Regions from separate parts of the Homo sapiens genome. Here region 2 is linked to region 1. The links are contacts of gene promoters, found by promoter capture Hi-C in human tissues and cell types (Jung and others, 2019). All regions are on one chromosome and are shown on one strand. The core of a region is centred on a gene start or on the middle of the fragment in contact, and the rest is flanking DNA. Distances in the headings are between cores, read along the strand shown. Region 1 holds the start of DSPP (dentin sialophosphoprotein). Region 2 has its middle 31 kb from the start of SPARCL1.

Region 1 (7,930 bases), core at 1,902-4,401:
AGGCAAAATCAAGTATTACGCTAGTATACTTCTGTGCTCTGCAAGAGCACATTTGAAATACTTGAGAACATTTTCAACTACATAAATACCAAATGTTTGGTATTATGAAAGCATATGAAAATGTTAAACATGATGGCTGGCTAGTAAAATTATAAATGGTTGAATTTTCTCAATTTTTTATTGGTTTTCATCATATATTCCAAATTTTCCACAGTGAGCACATAAATAATAACTCTGAGTGAAAAATTAGTCTCCTATATGTTGAAAAAAAATCTACTTTTTCTTATTATTCTTTCTTGGAAACTTCCTAAACAGCACAGACTTTGTTCGTATTAGAATGAAATTCACAGAGTATGAAGCAAAGATGGACAAAGTCTCCATGACTTCTGGGCATTAAGTGTAAATTAATCTGAATAAATGTTTTAAATAATAATAATCCTTCAGACGAGATATGAGTTTCTATAGAGGAATGAGACGATGAATTGGAGTGGTTTTGTTGAAACCTCACAGATATCACATAAAGCCCTTAGTGCAAATCTAAATGTTTAGACTCAGCCTGTTAAAAAAAATTAAGGAAACATATATACACACACACATATATACACACATGTACATGCACACACACACACACACACACACACACACACACTACATTTTGTATTAATGTTAGGTTAAAAAAGATAACAAAGTGAAGAGGTTTTCTAAGAAAGGCATACTTACTGGAATGGCCCATGCTACTGCCCAAATGCAAAAATATGTAATTATCTTCATTTTCTTTAGGAATAATAATAATCAATGGCTGTATAAAAAAGGAACAGCACAAAATTACTTATAAAGTAAAGGGAAAATCATAGTACTATATTATTTTGATGTGTAAGCATTTGCCCTTTTCCTGGACAAGAAGCATGTATCTAACACGAGAAGACATACGATGGTCCAGAACATACCTGGTGTGGTTATGGGGGCATCACCAGGCTCAGCACTAATGTAGCTTCCTAGATTTTTTTCTGCCTGTGCCAATGAAGGAAAACGCCATAATAGGTACAAAGGGCATAGCTGTAACTTTGTTCTTCTGCAATTCTTGGGTGTAAAAACATCTATTTCTCTTCTGAATAGCTTTAATCAAGTACTAACTAATTCTGCTGAAATTGTGCTTCAAAGGTAAAACACTTGTCATCCTTACTCCAAATCTATAGAATTGAGCTATACCAGACTTTAAGAGAAAGAAATTACTAACATGAGGGAGCCTACGCTAGTGGAAAGAATACGGGGTTTGTATTCAGAGACCTGGGTTCAAATGTTACCCCTGCTACTTGCTGTGTAAGCTTGAGAAATTTAAGTAGGTTTATTATCCCTCCACCTGGAATAATAACAACACCTGCACCTCAGGATTATCCTGAAGTTTGGTAGAATTATCTCTGAGAAGCCCTCTCTGACGCCACTTCAAAGGGTATTTGGTATCTCTTTCCTTTTTATACCAAGGAAGTTTGCACGTCTCACTGGTAACGCATTGCACTGTTTAAAATTGCCTAGTTACTTATGTGTTGCCCTGATTTCCTGTAAGCTCCTGAGGCCCAGGAGAGTGTCTTGGTGATTATTGTATTCCAATGCAAAGCACAGAAAAAAACGTTTTCTGAATGTTGTTGATAAATATTTATGACTATCAGCAATATCTAGCATTGCTTCAGGCACTTTGCAATTTTTGAATAAATGATAGCAATTATTTTATGGGACTTCTAAAATCATGATTCTTCATCCCTGTTAGAATTCAAATTCAGAAATGGTCTAAAACATGTTTCTGATAAGTTGGAATAGACATTTTATAATCTGTGTGAGTAAAAAAATTAATTTATATTGCAAGTTGGATTTCTTGAAGTAATGATAGAAAGGAGAGTTTTACTCCTATTTCATGAACTCCCACCAGATGTATAGATTATAATGCTGCATGTCATAAAATGGCTTTGATTGAATTTAATGGTGGTAGTGAAAATATAATAAAACTTCACTGAATATCAACTGTCATGAGAATTACTGGCGTTTTCTCACAGGAGAGATGACACAGTTCCAGAGCTACTGAGGGGGAAAAAAGTGCTCATTCTTATAGCTGTTCAACAGAAAGCCAAGAACAGCTAGAGCTCCTTCTGAAATGCCATAGATTCAAGTGAGGCTGAGGTGACACCAGGACAAGTATCATGCAGAGCTCTGGGGCACAGATGTTGAAGGCCAGCTGTTTACTAAGCCACAGTTATCCTGTACTTTGCAGTCCCAAGCCTAATCATTACATAGCTCTGCAGAAGGCCCGTCTGCACTGTGATTTGGAAGAGCCTCAGCATACTGGAAAGGTACCTGCAGCCAAGGCCAGAGTGATGCGTGTCCAGTTTCTGAGCTACAGTTCAGAAATCTGACCACTACATCTCTCTTTCAGCTCCACTCCTGAACAATTCCATGATGGTTATCACCGTTTCCAAGGCAGGTGAATGACTTCGAAGACTACAATAAAAATGGCCCAGGTGATCTCAGCATGAAACAAAGACTTCAGAATTTGTGAAGCTCCATCAGATTATTTCATTTATTGTTACTAATGAAATGAGATTTAGCTTCATTTCATTTAGCAATTAGATTTGGCATCATTAGTGATTGCTAAATTTCATTTCATGTGGGACAATAAATAATAAGTAATAGTAAGTAATAAAATACTAAAAAGCAAAGCCTAATTGAAGCCTTGTTTGAAAGCCCAAGGTGGATTTTTGAAATCTGAGTTATCTCATTTTTTATCAAAACTAATCAAAGTGCCCAGATAGTTAATTGTCAAATTTCCACCTCAGTTGGCCAATTTTTCAGTACGAGGTCTTTCTTCTTCCCAATCTATCTCTTCCTTAGGTCGTAATTGTCCGTTATCTTTTATACATACTATCAATATGACAAGTCAAAAAGGAAGCATACAATCTAATCATTAAGGGGTACTCGCTTCTTAAAATCAAACTGGCTTCATCTTTGAAATTCAAAGTTCTTTCTAAATGAATCAGTTGGTTCTGAGTAAAAAGGATATTTCATCTTACCTTAAAAGGCTTCAAAAGGATTTTGAAAATCCAGAATTTCTTATCTTTCTCTTTGAAGACTGAAAGTGGCCCACTGTCCTGGACTTTTGCATGACAATTTTGTACTTGCCGAAATTTAAACTCAGTTTGATAATTTTCTCAACCAATCACTGTTTAGGATCCCTGATATGGGGTTATAAAGTGTCATCGAGTCTATGAAGCACATAATAACTTCCCCACTTCCTTCACTTGGTGATATGTATTTGCTCACTGAACCGTTCGGTTCCAAAAGGACTAGACTTACTTTCACTTAATTAAACAGCTCCTATGAGGCTGTTTCACATCTTAAATATAGAGAATCAGTGTAAGATACCTGAAAAGAGCCACTTAAACTCTGTCACCCTGACATTTCTTGTCTTACCAAGGTTGGCAATCTAAGAAAACTCTAGGTTTCTTTAGTAAATATGACTGCCTATTTAAGACCCCTATCATTCTTGAGGTAGGTATTAAAGTTTCTGTGCTATAATTCAAGAAACTGTCCACATGCAGCAGCCTTGACGTTGCCTGAGGGATCTTTAACAATCTATAAACAGTAACTCCCCTGAAATCTCTCTGATTTAACTGAAATAAGCAGTGACATAAAAGCTTAAAAATCTATCAATTGAGTATTCAAACTACATTTCAAAAACAGACATTGAAAATGTCAAAAGTAGCAAGATGTCCAAAGGTGCATAAAGACAACAGATTTAGCTGTCCATTATCTCTCAATTATCTGTGTTAGCTGCAGAATGCAAAGTAGAAAACTAGACTTTATGTCTAACAAGTTTTGCAACATGAGTGCACCATTCTCTTGAACCCTAGATGTACTATAATGCAGGTAATCCCTAAACTATTTCTTCAATTCATGCATTCAAAAACTTGACCGTCTTTCTCTATATACTTGTTTAGAATTTTCAGGAATATGCCAATTTTTGTGTTACAATATTAAAGAAGGTGAAACACATAAGACCACTAATGCTATATCACTATGCAACAGTGGTATCTCCAGAAACTATATATACAAAAATATATGGTATTTATATACAAATAAAGCTTTATATGTAGGGAAAAAGTAAGGTTAAAAGGAAGTGAATTGAATGGGAAGGAAATTTGCCTTGAAGCTGTTTTCATAGTGAATGCTTTGTTTTTATTCATATAGCATGTTTACTTGGGCAGATTAAAGGGCCTAAGAACTTTTAACAAGGCTCGAGTCACTTATGGGAGTGACACCCTTACCCACACACACATTCATCAGTGGAGGTTGGTGAACTAAACCTGCCTTTCTTTTCCTTAATTTGAATTAACATGAATTATGGTTAGAGATTTCAATAGCCATCTATTAATAATTGAAAGAAAAATATAATGGATATACAACCTTTAAACAGAAGTATCATCCAACTTGATCTAATTGACATTTACAGACGACTTCATCCAACAACAGAAGAATAAACATTCTTTTCAAGTGTACCTGCACCATTTACCAAGATAGAACGTATTCTGAGCCCCAAAATGAATCTCAATAAATTTAAAAGAATTCAAGTCGTACAAATTATGTTTACTGACCACAATGGAAGGCAATCAGAAATCAATAACAAAAGAATTCTGGAAAACCGCAAGTATTTTAAGGCTAAGTGGAACACTCATAAATAGTCAATGGGTGAAAGAAGAAACCAAAAGGGAAATTCAAAATATATGGGATGACTGAAAATGAAAGCATAGCATATCAAAATCTGTGGGATGTCACTAAAGCAGTTATTTAGGATGAAATTATAGCACTAAATAACCATATATGAAGAGAAGAAGTTTTGAAACAATGACCTCATTTTCCACCAAAGAAGGAAAAATTAAGTTCAAAGTATGTAGAGAAAAGGAAATAATAAAGATCAGAACTGAAATTAATTAAATAGAAAACAGAAAAACAATAGAGACAGTCAGTGAAACCAAAGCTGATTCTTTGAGAAGTTCAATAAAATTTAGGAGATTCTTTCCAGACTAATGAGGGAAATAAAGGAGAAGACACAAATGAGCAATATCAGGAATGAGAGAAATGACAATTCTACAGATTTTATAGACATTCTATAAATATTCTATAAGGGATAATAAGGAAATACTAGGAACATCTTTATGTTAATAAATTAAAAACTTAGACAAAGTGGGTAGATTCCTTAAAACCAACAAAGCTCACTCAAGGAAAAATAGATAACTTCAATTGCCCCGTATCTATTAAAGAAATTAAATTCATAGTTTAAAACTTGCCCAGAGAGAAAACTTTGGGCCCAGATGGTTTCACTTGAGAGGCATTGGTTGTTCAGTGGTAGAATTCTTGCTGCCCAAATGGTTTCACTGACAAATTCTATGACGTATTTAAGGAAGGTATCATTCCAATCCTACACAAACTCCTCCAGAAAATTGAGAAGGAGAAAATACTTCACAGCTCATTATATGATGCCAACATTATCCCAATACCAAAACCAAAAATGTTATAAGCATATACTACTACTGACCTATATCCATCATAAATGTTAATACAAAATTTTTAAATATAATGTTAGTGAATCAAACCCAATAATATGTTTTTAAAAGATAATACATGATGAGCAAGTAAAATTTATTCCAGGTGTGCAAGGCTGACTTAACATTTAAAAATTAATCAACGTGGCTGGCGCAGTGGCTCACGCCTGTAATCCCAGCACTTTGGGAGGCCGAGGTGGACGGATCACGAGGTCAGGAGATCGAGACCATCCTGGCTAACACGGTGAAACCCCGTCTCTACTAAAAACACAAAAAATTAGCCGGGCGTGGTGGCAGGCACCTGTAGTCCCAGCTACTCGGTAGGCTGAGGCTGGAGAATGGCGTGAACCTGAGAGGCGGGGCTTGCAGTGAGCCGAGATCACACCACTGCACTCCAGCCTGGGCGACAGAGCGAGACTCCGTCTCAAAAAAAAAAAAAAAAGCAATTTAATTCACCATATTAACAAAGACAGAAAACCACATAATCTCATTGGCAAAGAAAAACATTTCAAAAATCCAACATTCACTTCTGATTTTTAAAATCTCACTAGACAAATAAAACACATTTCAAAAATTGACCATCCATTTCTGATTTTAAAAATCCCATTAGGCAAAGAAGAAACATTTCAAAAATCCAACATTCACTTCTGATTTTAAACACCTCTTTAGGCGGCTGGGCGCAGTGGCTCACCTGTAATCCTAGCACTTTGGGAGGCCGAGGTGGGCGAATAACTTGAGGTCAAGAGTTCGAGACCAGCCTGGCCAACATGATGAAACCCCGTCTCTACTACAAATACAAAAAAAATTTAGCTGGGCGCAGTGGCAGATTCCTGTAATCCCAGCAACTTGGGAGGCTGAGGCATGAGACTTGCTTGAACCCAGGAGGCGGAGATTGCAGTGAGCCGAGATCACACCACTGCACTCCATCCTGGGTGACAGAGCGAGACTCCGTCTCAAAAAAAAAAAAAAAAAAAAAAAAAAAAAAAAAAACTCATTAGGCAAATAAAATACATTTCAAAAATCCAACGTTCACTTCCGATTTTTAAAATCTCATTAAGCAAGGAAGAAACATTTCAAAAATCCAACATTCAGTTCTGATTTAAAAAATAAACAAAAGCTCTCAGCTATCTAAGAATAGAAGGGAACTTCCTCAACCTGATAAAAGGCATCTTTTGGTGCAAAAGTAATTGTGTTTTTTGCAATTACTTTTTTTTTTTTTATACTTTAAGTTTTAGGGTACATGTGCACAACGTGAAGGTTAGTACATATGTATTCATGTGCCATGTTGGTGTGCTGCACCCATTAACTCGTCATTTAACATTAGGCATATCTTCTAATGCTATCCCTCCCCCCACCCCACAACAGGCCCCGGTGTGTGATGTTCCCCTTCCTGTGTCCATGTGTTCTCATTGTTCAATTCCCACTTATGAGTGAGAACATGCGGTGTTTGGTTTTTTGTCCTTGCGATAGTTTGCTGAGAATGATGGTTTCCAGCTTCATCCATGTCCCTACAAAGGATATGAACTCATCATTTTTTATGGCTGCATAGTATTCCATGGTGTATATGTGCCACATTTTCTTAATCCAGTCTATCATTGTTGGACATTTGGCTTGGTTCCAAGTCTTTGCTATTGTGAATAGTGCCGCAATAAGTTTTATGACAAACCCTCAGCCAATATCATACTGAATGGGCAATTACTTTTAATGGCAAAACCGCACTTACTTTTGCACCAACCTAATAACATCATACTTAATGCTTACCTACTGAATGCTTTCCCCCAGTATCAGAAGCAAGGCAAATATATCTGCTCTCACCATTTCTATTCAATATTGTTCTTGAGTTTCTAAGAAAGAAAAGAAATAAAAGGCATTCAGATTGGAAAAGAAGAAGAAGTTAAATCGTCTTTATTTCGCGGACAATATGATCATCTATGTAGAGCATCCAAGTGAATATACAAAAAGGTTACTAGAACTAATAAGTGAGTTAAGTAAGGTTATAGGATATGATATCAATAATAAAAAAATTTCTATTTGCTAGCAATTAACAATCAAACATTTAAATTAAAAACAATCAGTTTATAATTTCATCAACAGTACAATATGTAGTGATAAATCTGAAGACTTGAACATTGAAAAACTGCAAATATTGCTGAGAGAAGTTAAAGACTATTTAAATAAATCAAGATCTATAACATGATAATGGGTCAAAAAACTCAATACTAAGATGTCAAGTCTCCAAAAGTTTATCTATAGATTCAATACAATGCCAATTAAAATCCATGAAGAAATTTGGAAAGTTATTCTAAAATTCTCATGGAAATGCAAGGGAATTAGAATAGCCA
Region 2 (7,930 bases), core at 3,349-5,848, 48 kb after region 1:
CATACGTGTGCATGTGTCTTTATAGCAGCATGATTTATAGTCCTTTGGGTATATACCCAGTAATGGGATGGCTGGGTCAAATGGTATTTCTAGTTCTAGATCCCTGAGGAATCGCCACACTGACTTCCACAATGGTTGAACTAGTTTACAGTCCCACCAACAGTGTAAAAGTGTTCCTATTTCTCCACATCCTCTCCAGCACCTGTTGTTTCCTGACTTTTTAATGATTGCCATTCTAACTGGTGTGAGATGATATCTCATAGTGGTTTTGATTTGCATTTCTCTGATGGCCAGTGATGATGAGCATTTCTTCATGTGTTTTTTGGCTGCATAAATGTCTTCTTTTGAGAAGTGTCTGTTCATGTCCTTCGCCCACTTTTTGATGGGGTTGTTTGTTTTTTTCTTGTAAATTTGTTTGAGTTCATTGTAGATTCTGGATATTAGCCCTTTGTCAGATGAGTAGGTTGCGAAAATTTTCTCCCATGTTGTAGGTTGCCTGTTCACTCTGATGGTAGTTTCTTTTGCTGTGCAGAAGCTCTTTAGTTTAATTAGATCCCATTTGTCAATTTTGGCTTTTGTTGCCATTGCTTTTGGTGTTTTGGACATGAAGTCCTTGCCCACGCCTATGTCCTGAATGGTAATGCCTAGGTTTTCTTCTAGGGTTTTTATGGTTTTAGGTCTAACGTTTAAATCTTTAATCCATCTTGAATTGATTTTTGTATAAGGTGTAAGGAAGGGATCCAGTTTCAGCTTTCTACATATGGCTAGCCAGTTTTCCCAGCACCATTTATTAAATAGGGAATCCTTTCCCCATTGCTTGTTTTTCTCAGGTTTGTCAAAGATCAGATAGTTGTAGATATGCGGCATTATTTCTGAGGGCTCTGTTCTGTTCCATTGATCTATATCTCTGTTTTGGTACCAGTACCATGCTGTTTTGGTTACTGTAGCCTTGTAGTATAGTTTGAAGTCAGGTAGTGTGATGCCTCCAGCTTTGTTCTTTTGGCTTAGGATTGACTTGGCGATGCGGGCTCTTTTTTGGTTCCATATGAACTTTAAAGTAGTTTTTTCCAATTCTGTGAAGAAAGTCATTGGTAGCTTGATGGGGATGGCATTGAATCTGTAAATTACCTTGGGCAGTATGGCCATTTTCACGATATTGATTCTTCCTACCCATGAGCATGGAATGTTCTTCCATTTGTTTGTGTCCTCTTTTATTTCCTTGAGCAGTGGTTTGTAGTTCTCCTTGAAGAGGTCCTTCACATCCCTTGTAAGTTGGATTCCTAGGTATTTTATTCTCTTTGAAGCAATTGTGAATGGGAGTTCACCCATGATTTGGCTCTCTGTTTGTCTGTTGTTGGTGTATAAGAATGCTTGTGATTTTTGTACATTGATTTTGTATCCTGAGACTTTGCTGAAGTTGCTTATCAGCTTAAGGAGATTTTGGGCTGAGACGATGGGGTTTTCTAGATAAACAATCATGTCGTCTGCAAACAGGGACAATTTGACTTCCTCTTTTCCTAATTGAATACCCTTTATTTCCTTCTCCTGCCTGATTGCCCTGGCCAGAACTTCCAACACTATGTTGAATAGGAGCGGTGAGAGAGGGCATCCCTGTCTTGTGCCAGTTTTCAAAGGGAATGCTTCCAGTTTTTGCCCATTCAGTATGATATTGGCTGTGGGTTTGTCATAGATAGCTCTTATTATTTTGAAATACGTCCCATCAATACCTAAAATATTGGCAAACCGAATCCAGCAGCACATCAAAAAGCTTATCCACCATGATCAAGTGGGCTTCATCCCTGGGATGCAAGGCTGGTTCAATATACGCAAATCAATAAATGTAATCCAGCATATAAACAGAGCCAAAGACAAAAACCACATGATTATCTCAATAGATGCAGAAAAAGCCTTTGACAAAATTCAACAACCCTTCATGTTGTTTGTAACTTTTTAAAATGTGTTTTGTAGTACATGTAACCTTTTGAGAGCTTAATTTTTATTCAAATTATATTTCTAGCATCGTTTATATTCATTTTCTTTCCAGTAAGATATTTTATTGTATGAAGGTACCACAATTTATCTCTTCTCCTGTCATGAGGCATGTAAGTTTTTTTCAAAGCTTTTGCTATTTCAAACAGAAATGCTTCCATGGACATTCTTGTAGATGTCTCCTAATGTACACCTGCAATAATTTCTTTTGAGTATATGCCCAGTGTAGAATTACTCATCATAGATATATGAGTCTCCAGCTTTAAGAGATAATGCCAAATTCCTTGCTAAAGTGGTTGAACACTCCCACCAGCAAACTATAAACTAATCTACTGATCCACAACCTTCCCAATATTTTGTGTTATTAGACTTTTTAAACTTGCCAATTTACTATGTTTAAAATAGTATCTCATTGTCATCCTGATTTTTGGTTATCCATTTCACTGATCACTAATGAACTTGAGTATCTCTTTGTAGGTTTATTGGCCATATGTTTTATCTCTTCTGTGAGCTTCCTATTCATGGCTTTTGTCCATTTTTAAATCACTGGTATGGCCATTCTTTATTAGCTTACAGATGTCCTTTAGGTCCTTTAGATATTATTGCTATCAATTCTTTGCCAGGGTGTCATGAATATTTTGTCTCAGTTTATTTTTCCACTTTCTTCAAAATATCTTTTAATATTCAGACATTTTCAGTTTTAATATATTAAATTTATTGTCAGAGACATCTGCTGTCATAGAAGTTTAAGGGATAGCCTTGAAGGGTGGTGGTAAGAGAAATTTTCCACATGATTAGAGCTTCAAGCTGGGTACCTGATCATCCACTTTGTACAAAAAAGGAAGTGATCCAAGATTAAAATATACATGGACTTATGGACAGTGGCCAACGCATGGCCTGCTGGTCAGGGACTGTACTAGTTTCACTGAGCTGCCATGGAAATGACCACAAATTGAGCAGCTTCAGTTTACTCCCTCTTGGCTGGGTACAGTGATTCACTCCTATAATTCCAGAGCTTTGGGAGGCCAAGGCAGGAGGATCTCTTGAGGCCAGGAGTTCAAGATCAGCCTGGGCAATGTAGCAAGACTCTGTCTCTACAAAAAAAATAAAAATAATTTACTCCCTCATGGTTTAGGAGGCCAGAAGTCTGAAATCAAGTTGTCAGCAGGGTTGGTTTTTCTGGAGGCTCCAAGGAAGAAAGCATCCCGGGCCTCTCTCCTAGCTTCTGGTGATTGCTGGCAATTCTTGGTGTTCCTTGACTTGCAGACTCATCATTCCAATTTCTGCCACTGTTGTCATATCACCTTCTTCCCTATGGAGCTCTCTTGTGCTCTCCTCTTCTTATAAAAACACAAGTCAAGATATGTTCAGGACGATTCCAAGATGTTTCATCTCAAGATTTTTAACCAATTGCATCTGCAAAGACACTATTTTCAAATAAGGTCACATTCTGAGGTTTGAGGTGGACATGAATTTTGGGGGGACACTGTTCAACCCACCACAGGGGCTTAAAAAAGGAAAAGATTGGAAAATCTAGAAAAAGGAGATGTTGGAAATAGACATGCAGTTGGACATTAAAGAACAAGCATGAAGAATGAAGAGTTTCATGAGACATGTTAACACCCACCAAAGAGTGCCAACATGGAAGGAACACCAAACAGCCAGTCATAGACAAAATGACTCAGCCAACTCACATCAGTCAGCCTCTGTCATCAGCAACCCCAATCAGATGGCCAAGTGGATGAAGTAACCATCATGGCAGGGAGAGAGGCTATGCATATGTCCAACCTAGGTTCCCATTCATCAAGGTTGATTTAGCTGCTACTCCTGCCAAACGTACAACCTGCGAGCAAGAGAGACTAGTGCTGAGTGCTCCATACAGCATCACACTCTTTGGCCTCTTGTTTTCCTCATTCGACAATAATTTATGGAAATTCCTGCAAATTATTTGGATGCCCTCTAATTCATTATTTTTAATGGCCACATAATAGTCCATGGCATTCCAAAGCTTTTCCTACAACGGCCTCCTTTCATGTTATGACATCCTGTCAACTTCCTCTGATGGTAGGAAAATGGAACAAGTTGCCAAGAGCAATTGACTATGAGGATACCTGAGAAGATCCTGTCTGACTTGTCTTCTGCCAGTAACATACTTCCTCTCCTCCTGCTCTCATTTCACATCATACAGCAAAAGTTAACAGTTCAGAGCTGAATTTCTACAACTGATAAATTTAATTCTGGGAATTGAGTTATAACGTTAAAATCTATTTCTGGCTACAAGCTAATAAAGCTACTGTTCTCTCAAATAAATGATAAAAACAGAGAAACTCTTTTAAGGACTTTCCAGGAGACTTAGCAGAAAGCTAATAATATTTAAAAAGCTGCAAATACATTCTCAGAGTCACTGTAAATAGAAGAAAGTCAACAGCAAGTATCTAAAACTCTGGTGCAAAATTTCATGTAGCCAGGCGTGGTGGCTCATGCCTCTAATCTCAGCACTTAGGCTGAGGCAGGCAGATCGCCTGAGGTCAGGAGTTCGAGATTAGCCTGGCCAACATGGTGAAACCCCATCTCTACTAAAAATACAAAAATTAGCCGGGCATAGTGGCAGGCGCCTGTAATTCCAGCTACTCACGAGGCTGAGGCAGGAGAATCACTTGAACCGGGGAGGTGGAGGTTGCAGTGAGCCGAGATTGTGCCATTGCACTCCAGCCTGGGTGACAAGAGCAAAACTCTGTCTCAAAAAAAAAAAAAAAAAAGAGAAAGAAAAAGAAAAAGAAGAAAGAAAAGATAAAAGAAAAGTTCATGTAGGTCCTTTTGAGGATCATCATATATCCACACATTTTTCTTAATAATGAGCTAAAATTGATCTAGAAAGGGGTAATGGAAATGGCAAAAGAGAACCTGTCTACCTTCCAATTGTCCTCAGAAAAGCAGCAGCTGCCGTGGGATGCCCTTATATGGCATTTGTTTCCTGTTGTCCCTTGAGTGAAGTCTGCAGGGACACACTAGGGCAACTGGTACTTGCCATTTCCTGGAAGACAACCACAGAGCCGACTCTATAATTACCCGGAGGCCCTGCCTAGGTACCACAGTAGTAATCAGGCATCGGTCACCGGAAGGAGAGACGAATTGGGGCTCTGGATAGATATGCTGAACACAGACAGTGAACCATCCAAACCCCATTTGTACAGAGCCTATCAAGAAAGCTTTGCCTCCACAGATGCTACACAAAACATTGTGTACATGCTACACAAGGCAATGGACAACCACCACAAACTGCTCTGCAGTTCAAAATATCTGAATGAGAGCAAAATTTTATGAATGCAAATAAATAGTGCTGGAGTATCTAGAGATGCAGTTTGCTTTGGCAACAAATCCTGTGTCTTGTCTATCTGGATCTCAGATCAAAAAATCATGACGCCACCAGCTAACTGCCAGTTTTAAGTGACTGCTAGGATGAGTCCTCTAACAATTTCATTTCTCTGCAATGCAGCAAACAGTATATTAGCTAGGGTTAAATCAGCATCTGTGATTTCATAACAAACCAACGAATTCTAATACCATGTCTAAATTATGTGGCTATTTGTAATCACTTCCCTTGGAAGGTATAACCTTGATTGTAACAAATAATGTATCAGATCACCTTCTAAAATACAACTCCTTTTCTTGATTAAAAACTAAATGATTTCACATGATTTGATTTTTATTGTCTCAAGAAATTTCCACAATCTTTTAAGAAGTGGTTTTCAAACTTTATCCCGGGAAATCTTTCTTCAGAAGAAATATTCCCAGAGGGACAGACATATAAAAGCAGAACTCTTTTAATTTGCAGTTTGGCATTTTCCCTCCTATTGCATTGCTCCCTTGTAAAGAAAGAAAGAAATCTGTCATGGCTTATGTGTTAATGTAGTCATTATTTTTAATTTATTGAAATAATTATAAACTCAAGAAAAATTGCAAAAAATAGTACAGAAAGGTCCTGCGGGCCCTTCCCCCAGTTTCCCCCAAAGGTAACATCTTACTTAAGTATAATGCATTATCAAAACCAGGAATACTACTAACTAGACTATAGACTACTAAAATTCCATTGGTTTTCACATGCAGTCATTGTTTTGCATAGTTCTATGAAATGTTATCTCACGTATAGATTCCATCACCACAAAGGAGCTCTGTTGTGATACCCCTTTATAGCCGCACCCGCTCTCCATCCTCATCCTTAATCCTTGGCAACCACTGATCTGTCTCCATTACCTGATCTTTAAAAATGTTACCATTTCAAGAATGTGATATACGTGGAATCATATCTTATGTAACCCATTGAGACTGGCATTTTTCACTTAGCATAATACCCTTAAGATCTATCCAAGCTGACGTGCTATATGAATACTTCACCCCTTTATATTTCAGCATAGAATTCCATTGTATAGATTTACCTCAGTTTCTTTATCCATCCACCTTTTGAAGGACACTTGGGTTGTTTCCACCTAGAGTTATTGCAAATAAAGCCGCAGAAAATATTTGTGTACAGGTTTTTGTGTGAACATAAGTTTTCATTTCTCTAGGATAAATGCCCAAGATTGCATATGCTAGAATGTATGGTAAGTAATGTTTAATTTTATATGAAACTGCCAAACTCTTTTCCAGAGTAGATGCCCCAATTTATGAGAGATCTCAGTATGAGAGATCTAAGTATCTCTGCATTCTCAACAGCATTTAATATTATCAATATTTTTTCCCATGCTACTATGTATGTAGAGGAGAAATCGTTTATTTTTAAGAGCATTACCTTTCCTTTCTTTGCATGCCCAATTTAAAATTGAGAACTATTTAAATTAAAATAGTGCTTCCTAAACATAAAGTTAGTATAAGGTAAATGTGATAATTTGAACTCAGGAATGGCTATTTCAAACTGACTCTCAGTGAATGGCTTACACTGAGGTCAATGATCTGCTCCCAGCTTTGGGGACTAGGAGCTATTTTATTCATTGACCTAGAGATAGAAGAATATACAGGCATTGAGCCATGCCAAACTCCCAAGAGATGTATCTACAAGCTAGCATATCAAGTATAACTATATCTGACAAAGCTTGCCCAGGGGAAGGGTACTCATTTCCTCTGGCTTGGTGGATCACCCAAGAGCACAAACCTCAGAGCAAATATTTGCAGAAGGAAAGTACAGGACGTGGGATGTTCTTACAGGCATATTTATGAAGCTAAGCCGGCTGGATAGAAAGCTCCCTTCATTTTAGGTATTCCCTAATGAATCACAATCACAGTCTATGAAGCAAAATCATTCTTTGGCCATTGACCATGCTACAGAAAAAGACCCACTATTAATCCCCTTTCTATAAAAGGGTTACTTACCTTCTTCTAAAGGTAACATTGCAACATGAGCCTTCTTCTTTCAAGTTCCATTAACATGCTAATTCCCAAGTGTATTAATTTTCATTGATTATATTTTAAAATGCTGACTTCCTAGAGATGCTGTGGACCAACTCTCACAGAGCAGAAAACTACCTCTAAATTATAGGATAATTCTAAACTGGTAAATAACCAATTGCAACCTTAGATTGAATTTTTTTAAAGCTTGTTTTGAAATGTGAAAGCAATACATGTCCCGAGTAAATCAGACTTAGGAGTCCTCAGCATGTGATTGCACTGACCACAGAGGTAGTTTTTACTCTAAATTTTAGGGTCTATAATACTTTGATGTCTACACCACTCTATCCATGGACAGAGTATTTTAAAACCCTAAGTACAGGCTATGTAGATGATCACATTGCTACTTGTTAGAGTTCTAATCATACAAAATAGCATTTAACCAAAAACCCAAAAGAGTTTTGGTAATTGATAACATTGCAAATATAACTGTGCATCACCACTGATCACTAGAGCTAGACCTTCATTATGGGACAAAGAACTACGAGAAAAAGATTTG

Evidence for each region. Contacts are between HindIII fragments. The study calls those that stand out against the background at their distance.
Region 2: a fragment that was not itself captured here is called in contact with the fragment with the promoter of DSPP in region 1 in 1 of the 25 tissues and cell types used here (adrenal gland).

Annotation. Positions count from the first base shown.
Region 1 is chr4:87,603,750-87,611,679 of GRCh38, reverse strand. DSPP (dentin sialophosphoprotein) reads right to left here and starts at 3,151. Exons shown (of 5, transcript NM_014208.3): 1 at 3,060-3,151; 2 at 721-799. The coding sequence starts at 771. All of the region lies in intron 3 of DMP1-AS1 (DMP1 and DSPP antisense RNA 1), which reads left to right. The HindIII fragment of the contact is 7,231 bases long and covers 1-3,907 here.
Region 2 is chr4:87,556,754-87,564,683 of GRCh38, reverse strand. No RefSeq gene overlaps it. Among named protein-coding and RNA genes, the nearest start is that of SPARCL1, 31 kb to the right of the region's middle. The HindIII fragment of the contact is 3,080 bases long and covers 3,059-6,138 here.